3 separate regions of the Homo sapiens genome follow, and regions 1 and 2 are each linked to region 3. The links are contacts of gene promoters, found by promoter capture Hi-C in blood cells and fetal thymus (Javierre and others, 2016). All regions are on one chromosome and are shown on one strand. Each heading gives the region's core, a stretch centred on a gene start or on the middle of the fragment in contact. The rest is flanking DNA. Distances are from core to core; before and after follow the strand shown.

Region 1 (3,080 bases), core at 3-2,502, 2.2 Mb before region 3:
TCTCTGTGACTTCCTTCTGTTGTCTCACCTTAGCTGCTCCTCTTTCCTTCTGTTTGAGTCATGTCTGCTCTCCAGTTCTTTCTCCCATGCCATAATCAAAGCTCATCAGGAAAAATTCTGCTCTGTCATTATATTTAGAATGCTTTCAAGGCATGATGTTACCTTCCCCAGGGGTATTTGTACATAAGAGCACTTTTAATAGTTGTGGATCAGGCATCCTTTTACCTTGAAGAAAGTGTTCTTAAGATTTGAAGCTTCTTAATTTCTGATGAAAAACAAACCGCAGTTTAAGTATAAGGCTTCATTATGAAGTCAGTTTAGACCCATGCTCAGGCAGATATTGGATAATAAAGGGCAGAAGCAGCAGGCATAATTTTTCTTATTTCTTTAAGATGCTGTGCACTGAGAATTGGGCTTAATAGAACAGTGATTTAAGCATGTTAGTGAAGTATTTTATTATACTGTTTTCACTTCTATGCCAAGCAAGAGCTGTTACCTGAGCCCAGTCCCTTGTAGGAGAAGATTAAAATAGTTTCTTCCTGGGTCTGTGGCATCAGGGAAGGTATTTGGCAGCAAGAATTGTGTCAATGTATGGGTGAAAAGGAGAGGTCTCTGAAGTTGCCCCCAAGTGTTCTGATACATTAAAATATATATGATTGGAAAGAGAAGACCAAATATTTCTAACAGCCTAATGAGGTTGTATCTAATCAAAGAAATTAGAAATGGAAGTAGCTGAGAATGTGCCACAAAGCTCCATCTGGAACACCTCCAAACACAAAACACGGAAAGGAGCGACTACGCATAGGATGAGTGCCAGTCCCATGCATAGAAAGAAGTCTTCCAGAAATGGATAGATGAATGCTCAGTTTCTGCATCATAACGCACTGTTGCTCTTTTTCTTTTGCCTCTGCGATGGCTTTTCTCAAGTATTGTGTTTCTTGGCAAATCAGTTAATTTTTTTTTATTACAGAAATTTTGAAATGTATCCAAATGTAGAGATAATGGCATAATGAACTTTCATGTAACCATCACCCATCTCTAATAATTACCCTTAGCACAGCAAGATCAATCTTGTTTCATCCATATTCCTACTTACTTTCCCTTTTGTCGATGCTGGATTATTTTGAAGCAAATCCCAGACATCAATTCATTTCTTTATCCACAAATGCTATGGTATATATTTCTAAAATATAAATTATTTTTAAAAGCAACATAACATCATTATATGGTATTCTACCATATACCATTATAACATACAAAATTAATAATTCTTTAATATTATCAAATATCTAGTCAGTGTTTAAAGTTTCCTGATTTCTTCACAATGTTTTAAAAGTTGGTTTGAATCAAGATGCAAATGAAATCTACATATTATATTATATTTGTTTGCTAATTTTCTTTTCTCTCATCATTTAAAAAATATTGCATATAACTTATATGCAACAAAGTGGTAAAATGTCCATCTTACATCTCTTTTAATTCCTCCCTTTCTTTCTCTTGCTCTATTCCCTTTTCTCTCTCTCTTTTCCCTTCCCTTCCCTTCTTTCTCTTTCTTTCTTTCTTTCTCTCTCTTTCTTTTTTTCTCTCTCTCTTTCTTTTTCTTTCTCCTCTTTTTTACAACTTACTTGTTTCATGAAATCAAGTTGTCATGTTGAATATCTTGCATTCTGGGTTTTGCTCATCCATCTCTATGATCTCCGTGATATTATGAACACACCCTCCTCAATCCTTATGTTTTTGGTAAGCTCGTTAGATCTAGACTCCAGATTTTAGAGGCCTAATCAAATTCACTCAGTATTTCTGACAAGTTTTCACAGGTGACAGCAAGTTCATTTTACAATTTGCATTGGAGGATTGAAATGCTATATGTTATGGAGGCAAGGTAAGGGCATGTTTTTATTGTTAGCTTTTACATATTTATCATCTGAATCAATAGCTATTGGGTGTATTCTCTCCATTGTTCAAGTTGATTCTGATGACAAAGCAGGCATTCAAAGAGGTCCCTTATTTTCTCTCCAGTCATTCAAGGTCTAGTATTGCACTTCCATTCTTGTCATTAGATTAGGCTACCATTCAGGTGCTGCAGTGGTAGCCTGCTGAGCTTACCAAGATGTGCAGTGGGCCCTGTTGACTATGAGAATCATTTTGGGTAGAAAAGTTTGCCTTCTGGCTATTCTGATTTTACATTTGAGTATCTTTGTATTTTTTCAATTGTGCTGAAACTCCACTGAACTTAACCATTTGTGTTTCCCAAGCTTCTTCTCTAAATGGCATTGTTAGTCACTTAGTTGCCCAAGGAGGAATAAAACATAGGTGACATTCCTGATTCTTTCTTCTCCCCACTTTCTCCAATCTCCAACAAGTCCTGTTGGTTCTTCTCCTTCATCTCCCTCAGGTCCGTCCTCTTCTTTCCATCTCCGCTGATGGAAAGGCCATGAGCATTCCTTTATTGCTTTTCTATACTATTGCAAATGAGCTTAAATTGTTCTCCCCCTCCCGCATCCAGTATTTTCCCCTTTGGATCTATCCTCCTTGCTGCAAATATGATGAGATTTCTAAGGAGTGACTGACCATGTCACTCCTTTGCTTAAAGTTCATAATTGTCTTACAACTGCTCTTGTATTCAAATACAAACTCTTTAACATGAACCACATCCTTTTGTGAAATCGCTTCTGCTTCCCTCCTCAGCCTCTACTGTTGCCATTCTGCCCTCTTTGCATTTATAACCTTAGCCATAACAGATCTTTTTTAGTTCTTGGATACTTTTGTGTACTTGCATGTTCATTTTTTGTGAGTGATGTTCCCTCTGCCTGGAACTCTGCCTCCATCTGCTTTGGTTAGCTAAATGTTCAGTTTCCCAATCCAGAAGTTACTTCTTCTGGGAAGACTTTCCTAGTCCACCATACCTGGATTAGGTACCCCTTATCTTTGCCTCTTAAGATCCTATTTTTCTATATCACAGCACATATAATAATGTATTCTACTTGGTTATTTACCTGTCTTTCCAACTGTAAGCTTTGTGAAGCCAGAAGCTATATCTGTCATCTTCATTATTGTACCTGATTCAGTGCCTGGAACAA
Region 2 (3,139 bases), core at 193-2,692, 2.3 Mb before region 3:
GGGGGAATCTCTTCCTGGAAATTATCACATTAACTACATTGATGCTATATGTGCCTTTGGCCCAAGATTTCTTCTATTTACCTTTCTTATCTTTCTGGGTTGCTGCAAGGCTTATGTTGTCCTTCAAAATCTCAAAGGATTTCTACCAGGCAACAAATGTCTGCTGATCTGGGTTTCTTAGACCACCTCCTTGGGGGCATCTGAGGTTGTTGCAGTGCAGCCTGCTTGCTACCATCCAGCACCTTTCATGATTTTTGCAGAATCTCCAGCACCGTTGCTTGGTCACCTTTTGTCAGCCATCTTGAGCTTCAGTGTTCACTGGCACACAAGGAACCACAGAAAGAGGGAGCTGGTGGAGTCAACAAATGGAGAGGGAAGGGCCACTCAAATGGCTCTTAGTCTTCACTGGCTGAGAACCAAATACAGATTAGCTGTACGGTAGAGTGCTGCAACGGACTTACATTTATATACACATATAAAATATTTCTGAGATCATCAGCACTCTAATGAATCAGCCCTGTCTGGAACAGCTCTAAATGAATTCTAAATGAGTGCCTCTCTGATTTCATACCGAGTAAATGTATAGTAATGCAAAGTGGCACTTTCTTTAGTTCATCAATAATTTATTAATGGGCACTTTGTTCTAGGCATGATGTTTCTTAGAGTTTCAAAAAATGACTTTGCTTTTGGTTGCTCTGTTGCTCTCATAGAACTTTTTCCTCTTCTCTTAACAGCAGTCATCACTTTCTCCTGTGTGCCAGTTGTCTCCAAGTCAGACACAGAGTGTTTTCCCCTATTGGATTATAAGCTTAGTGAAGGTAACACTCATGTTTGATTCACTATTACATTCTCTACAAAGCCTAACATAGTTCCTTGTACAAATAGATACACATAAATATTTGAGTAAATGAATGATAATAAGAGACATGGCCAAAACATTTTAAAGGAGCTCAAAACGTATTTTGCTGGACTCCAGCAATCTTAGCTGTCATTACTATGTGGGGCTCTAGGGAAGGACTCTATGTCGGCTCTGATTGGCCAGTGGCTCTGCAGGTGATCTTATTTTTTTGGAGGGAAGCGAGTTTTTACTATTGTGAAGCACTTTTATTATTGTCAGTGCCTCACAATAATAAAACTCCATCAGTCACTTCCATTGGGCAGTTACTTTTTCTTTCTTTACCCTTATAGGTATAAATGACCTCGGACCAAATGGCAATAAAAGGAAGGTATTTTATTACTGTCTTTGGGGCAAATAAAACATTTATTATTTCTCCATCCCTAGCCCTTTCATCTAATTTTTAATCTTAATTTATAATTGTATTATATGTCCTATCCAGGAGTAATTGCAGCTTCTATGTCCTGTATTATGGCACATCAACAACACAGATGTATGTAACTACTCTCAAGACCTCATTTAAATATATGAAAAATTCAAGAGATTGTTCAAGGGACACCAGGTTGAATCCAGGTTCTATCAGATACATAAATCTTTTTTTGTGTCACTCCATTTGTTCATAGGCATTCTTTTTCCTGATGAATGGCAACCAGATTTATCAGGAAGATATACAACACTGGCTCCATTTCAAACAATTGTCTGATGTCCTCTGGCAGCTATTGGAACTGCACATTGCAATAGTACCAGCCTGTCATTTTGAGAGACCCCTAGGGTAATTGTGAGATGTGCTTGAGGCTCAGATCATTGTCTGTAAAGGTAACATGCAATTTCCTTGGCAGCAGCTGTGCAAATCTGCGTTGTACAGCAAAAAAGGTGATGTTTCCTACCTCATATTTGAATTATGTACTTTGGCCCTTTAAATCTTGTGCCCGGTATGTGTGTCTATGTAGGTCAATCATTATCAGGCATTCTAACTCCATAACCCATCCTACACACATGTTTGGAAAGAATGCAGAGTAACTGATGCATAAAATAGTTGGATTATAATTGTCTGGTACCTTGACAAAATACTTTTTCAGTAAATCATATTTTTCAAGCATATAAGCACTTTTTAAAAAATAAAAACTAGAATTTTATAGTTCTGATGTAAACTTTTATCCTAAAAGCAATGTCTTATTTCTATAAGCTTTTAAATTCTGGAACATAAACATATATATTACTTATCCTTTTGGATTCATGAAGGGTCAGTTCTCTGATGCTCTATTCATAAACATTTCACTTTTCACATTTGGAAACAACATTTCAGGAGTAAAGAAAATTAGATATGCTACACTCTTAGATCACATGCTTGTTATATCCAGATGAAACTTCTGGATACCACTGGCCTAATTGGTGGTTTATTCTTTCATTCATTCATTTGCTTGTTCATTCTCACAACCCTTTGACAAATATATATAGAGTGCTTACTCTGAGCCTGGCACTGAACTGCGATTGGGGATATAGTGGTGATCTATGCTGGATTGTGTTGGTGTTCTTTGTGATGCCAAACCATTGGGTACACAGTGAGCATATTTAATAAAAGAAACTATATGCCCAAATAATTTGGGTGTAGTGAAAAAGGACCTCGGAATCAGACAGGTTTGGTGTGATCCGCTGCTGGTTACTTAACCTCTTGGAGGCTCTTTTATTCTCCCCACAATGCTAACATTTCAGGATTGTTTTAGGAATTAAGATAGAAAATGTATGTGGAATTGCCTGGCAATTGGGTCAGTTAATTTTATTAATTTGTTTGGCCACAGGCACAGACATGAATCTTTTAAGAAACTGGTGTCAGTGAAATTTTGAAACTGGAAACTCTGATCTCTTACTCTTTCAGGAGTGTTTCTTTTAAAGGTTTCTCTTTTTTTCCATTCCAATTTGACCCCACATCGAAGACATGAATACCTCTTTGTAGTAGTGGGTTAAGAGAGGGTGGTTTTCGCAGTCAGCTTATTTCTCTCGGACCTGACCAAATGAAAAGATCCCTGCTAGCATGTAGAACTCAATGTCTGAGAAACAAACTGGAATCAACTACCTTATATTCCTAACCAACAGCTCCATCTGATATGACCCTATCAGCTTTGTAATTGTTTCATTGGGCCATTCTGAGGATTTCGCTCTTGGTTCTGCAATTAAATTAAACAAACATTAATTGAGCATCTCTCAGATGCCAGACCTTGTGCTACCTGCTTGAGGGTACCAAGA
Region 3 (2,894 bases), core at 369-2,868:
TGTATGTATTTGCCTGAAATGCAATGCAATTTCATCATATTTCATGTAAATGGAATCATACAACAGGCGGCCTTTTTGTATGTGGCTTTTTATGTCTGAACAATATTTCATTGTACAGTTATACCATGTTTCTTTTTTTTTTGAGACGGAGTCTCGCTCTGTTGCCCAGGCTGGAGTGCAGTGGCGCGATCTCTGCTCACTGCAAGCTCTGCCTCCGGGGTTCACGCCATTCTCCTGCCACAGCCTCCCGAGTAGCTGGGACTACAGGCGCCCGCCACCACGCCGGGCTATTTGTTTTTAGTAGAGACAGGGTTTCACCGTGTGAGCCAGGATGGTCTTGATCTCCTGACCTCGTGATCCGCCCGTCTAGGCCTCCCAAAGTGCTGGGATTACAGGTTTGGGCCACCGCGCCCGGCCTATACCATGCTTCTTAACCATGCATCAGCTGATGGTCATTGGGTTGTTACAATACTTTTTGGCTATTATGAATATTGCTGCTGTGAACATTTGTGCACATGTTTTTATGTGGATCCAATTATTTAGGCTTACAGTATTTAAGAGTGCTGCTTTGCTACTACGCTGACTGGGGTTAAGACCAGGCTCTGCTATTTAGTAGATGTGTGACCTTGGGCAAGTTACTTAACTTCTCTGTGCCTCAAGCTCATCTACAAACAGTGACTATGTTACCCACCTCCTAGCAATTTTTGAATCTTAAAAGAGTTAACGTACCTGACATACTTAGATCCGGGTTTGCTACATGGTTAGGTCCAAGTAAAATTTATCTATTAGTATTATTTTAATATTTTTACGACTTTAATAAAAGGGCTCATCTTCATTGTGCCTTTGAAACCCCAAATCCAAAACTTTTTTTTTTGTTAATTAGAAAAACTAAATAAATATTCAGAATTGTCTGGTATTCTGGGTGTGCTAATTTCAGACAAGCACATTTTGAGATCGAGGGAGACGTGGTTAAGCTGTAAATTGCAAAGAGGCTTGCCTTCGCCAATTTACCTTTCTTAATGCAGCAACTTATAACACCTATTGGCTTGCAACGGTTTAGTATAATTTGGGAGGTATTCTTGTAATTAATAATATATTATTTAATAACATGGATATAGAGCTGAGTGGTGACTTAAGACTCCTGCTACTGTAAAGCTAGGAAATAGCGGCTTTCCACAGCAACTGTGCAATCGGTTTAGGCGCGGCCCAGGTCGATTTTGATTGGCTTGCCCAGTGGAAATGCTCTCCGCCTGAGCTACTACTGGCCAATATGGCTCCACAATTGGCTCTCCTGGAAGCCGACAGACACGTGGCTACCGCAGGCTGAGCCGAACTTGGGAGGACTTAGTTCTGCTTACCGCGAGAGGGCGCCGGCGGTTCCTCACTGCTAAAATCTCATTTCCCATAAAGCCCCCGAGTCACCAATCAACTGGCTGTCTTCATACCGCTTTCAAAGTCGGCGGGCGCCTTGCCCAATAGCAAAGAACATATCGCCCCCATTTCGAAGATTGATGGAAAGTTTGACCAACCGCATCTCAGACTTCTGCTGTCTCCGCCTCTCTCGTTGGGGATTGACGATTTTTCTAGCCAATAGGAGACGTCGGGTCGGCGGGTGGATGAACGCGGCCCTCTGTAATGGCGGAGCGTGGCGGGGACGGGGGCGAGAGTGAACGATTCAACCCGGGGGAGCTCAGGTAAGGAACGCTGCCCTCCTTCACATCTCTGCTCACGAGAGCCCCAGAGGCTAGACGCTAGACCTGCCATGTGGAGATCCGGGGCGGACGGTGGGTAGCGGAGCCGGGCGGCCCGGGCCGGGACCGCATGGGGTTTAAGAAGGGGGAAGGGGAAGGTGGCTTGAATGAGAGCCGGGCCCGGGCTGGGCCAGGGCCTCCTGCGCGTTCCCTGGCTGCTTCCTAGTGCTTTCTTGGGGCCTCGCCGCCTCTCGCGGCCTGCAGCCCTCTGGCCGGGCGCGGTGCTCCCGCCTTTGGGCCCCGCCTCAGCCGCGTGTCGCCTCCGTCTCGGCCGACCTGAGTCTGTCCCCAGGCCGCGCTCCGCTGCGGGCCTGATTTTCCTCATCGACGTCTCTGCACTCCGCAGTTACTTTCCCTGTACCCCTCGCCACTTCTGGCTAAGCCTTCTCCACGCCCTCCGCGGCTCTTTGGGCTCCCCACGTTTGCCCTTTCATTTCATCCCCCTCATTGCTTGCCTTTCTTAACTTCTGTGGCTTTTCTTCCTTTTTTCATCCCTTTATTCCTTATTATCCTGTAGTTGTGAGTAACAACAACAGTAGCAACCCCTTATTAGGCACTTACCGTGTGCCAGTAAACCCTTTACTTAGGTTTGTCTCATTTAATCCTCACAACCACCCTTTGGAGTAGTTGCTATTAACATTTTGCAGGCCACAGACCAGAGGGGTCTTCAGTTGTTACTCGCCCATCTTACAGGTGAGATAACAGCCTCGTGGAGGTTGAGTCAGTAGAATAAGATTGCATAGGCGGATTTGTGGCTCCAGGAAGTGGCTTGAACTCAGGCAGTCAGGTTTCAGAGCCTGCAATCCCAATTGGCGTTCTATTCGTCTACTACTCATGCCATTTCCTTGAACAGTGCAGTGACCTTTTTTTCCCCTGGAACCTCAGTGTCTATGAGTTTGTAATTAAAATTTGGTAAAATGAGAGTGACCTGGAGAAATCTTTTGGTCAGTGGTTTTTGAGGAAAAGAGGTATTATGCTTTATGTGTATTTGGTACTTTGGTTTTTTTCTGTATGGGAGAAATGGCATTTCAGATGTTCAGCTCCCATTCTGAATTGTGCTGTTGTCAACGTTTGAAAATGAAAAAGAGCAGGGTAGATTATGAAGACTCTGTTGATACTGTCTTGAACTTAAGATGAAATTGT

What was found. The method cuts DNA at HindIII sites, captures the fragments that hold promoters and counts their contacts. A CHiCAGO score of 5 or more calls a contact.
Region 1: a fragment that was not itself captured here is called in contact with the fragment with the promoter of TCERG1 in region 3 in 1 of 17 cell types (naive CD8 T cells); the score reaches 7.8 in naive CD8 T cells.
Region 2: a fragment that was not itself captured here is called in contact with the fragment with the promoter of TCERG1 in region 3 in 9 of 17 cell types (total B cells, total CD4 T cells, naive B cells and 6 more); the score reaches 26.1 in total B cells.

Annotation. Positions count from the first base shown.
Region 1 is chr5:144,211,831-144,214,910 of GRCh38, forward strand. All of the region lies in intron 3 of KCTD16 (potassium channel tetramerization domain containing 16), which reads left to right. Among named protein-coding and RNA genes, the nearest start is that of KCTD16, 42 kb to the left of the region's middle. The HindIII fragment of the contact is 2,001 bases long and covers 253-2,253 here.
Region 2 is chr5:144,195,191-144,198,329 of GRCh38, forward strand. The region is part of intron 2 of KCTD16 (potassium channel tetramerization domain containing 16); the gene reads left to right. Among named protein-coding and RNA genes, the nearest start is that of KCTD16, 26 kb to the left of the region's middle. The HindIII fragment of the contact is 1,273 bases long and covers 807-2,079 here.
Region 3 is chr5:146,445,715-146,448,608 of GRCh38, forward strand. TCERG1 (transcription elongation regulator 1) reads left to right here and starts at 1,619. Exons shown (of 23, transcript NM_001382548.1): 1 at 1,619-1,694. The coding sequence starts at 1,636. RefSeq lists an enhancer at 1,282-1,989 and a silencer at 1,908-1,987. The HindIII fragment of the contact is 4,342 bases long and covers 1-2,894 here.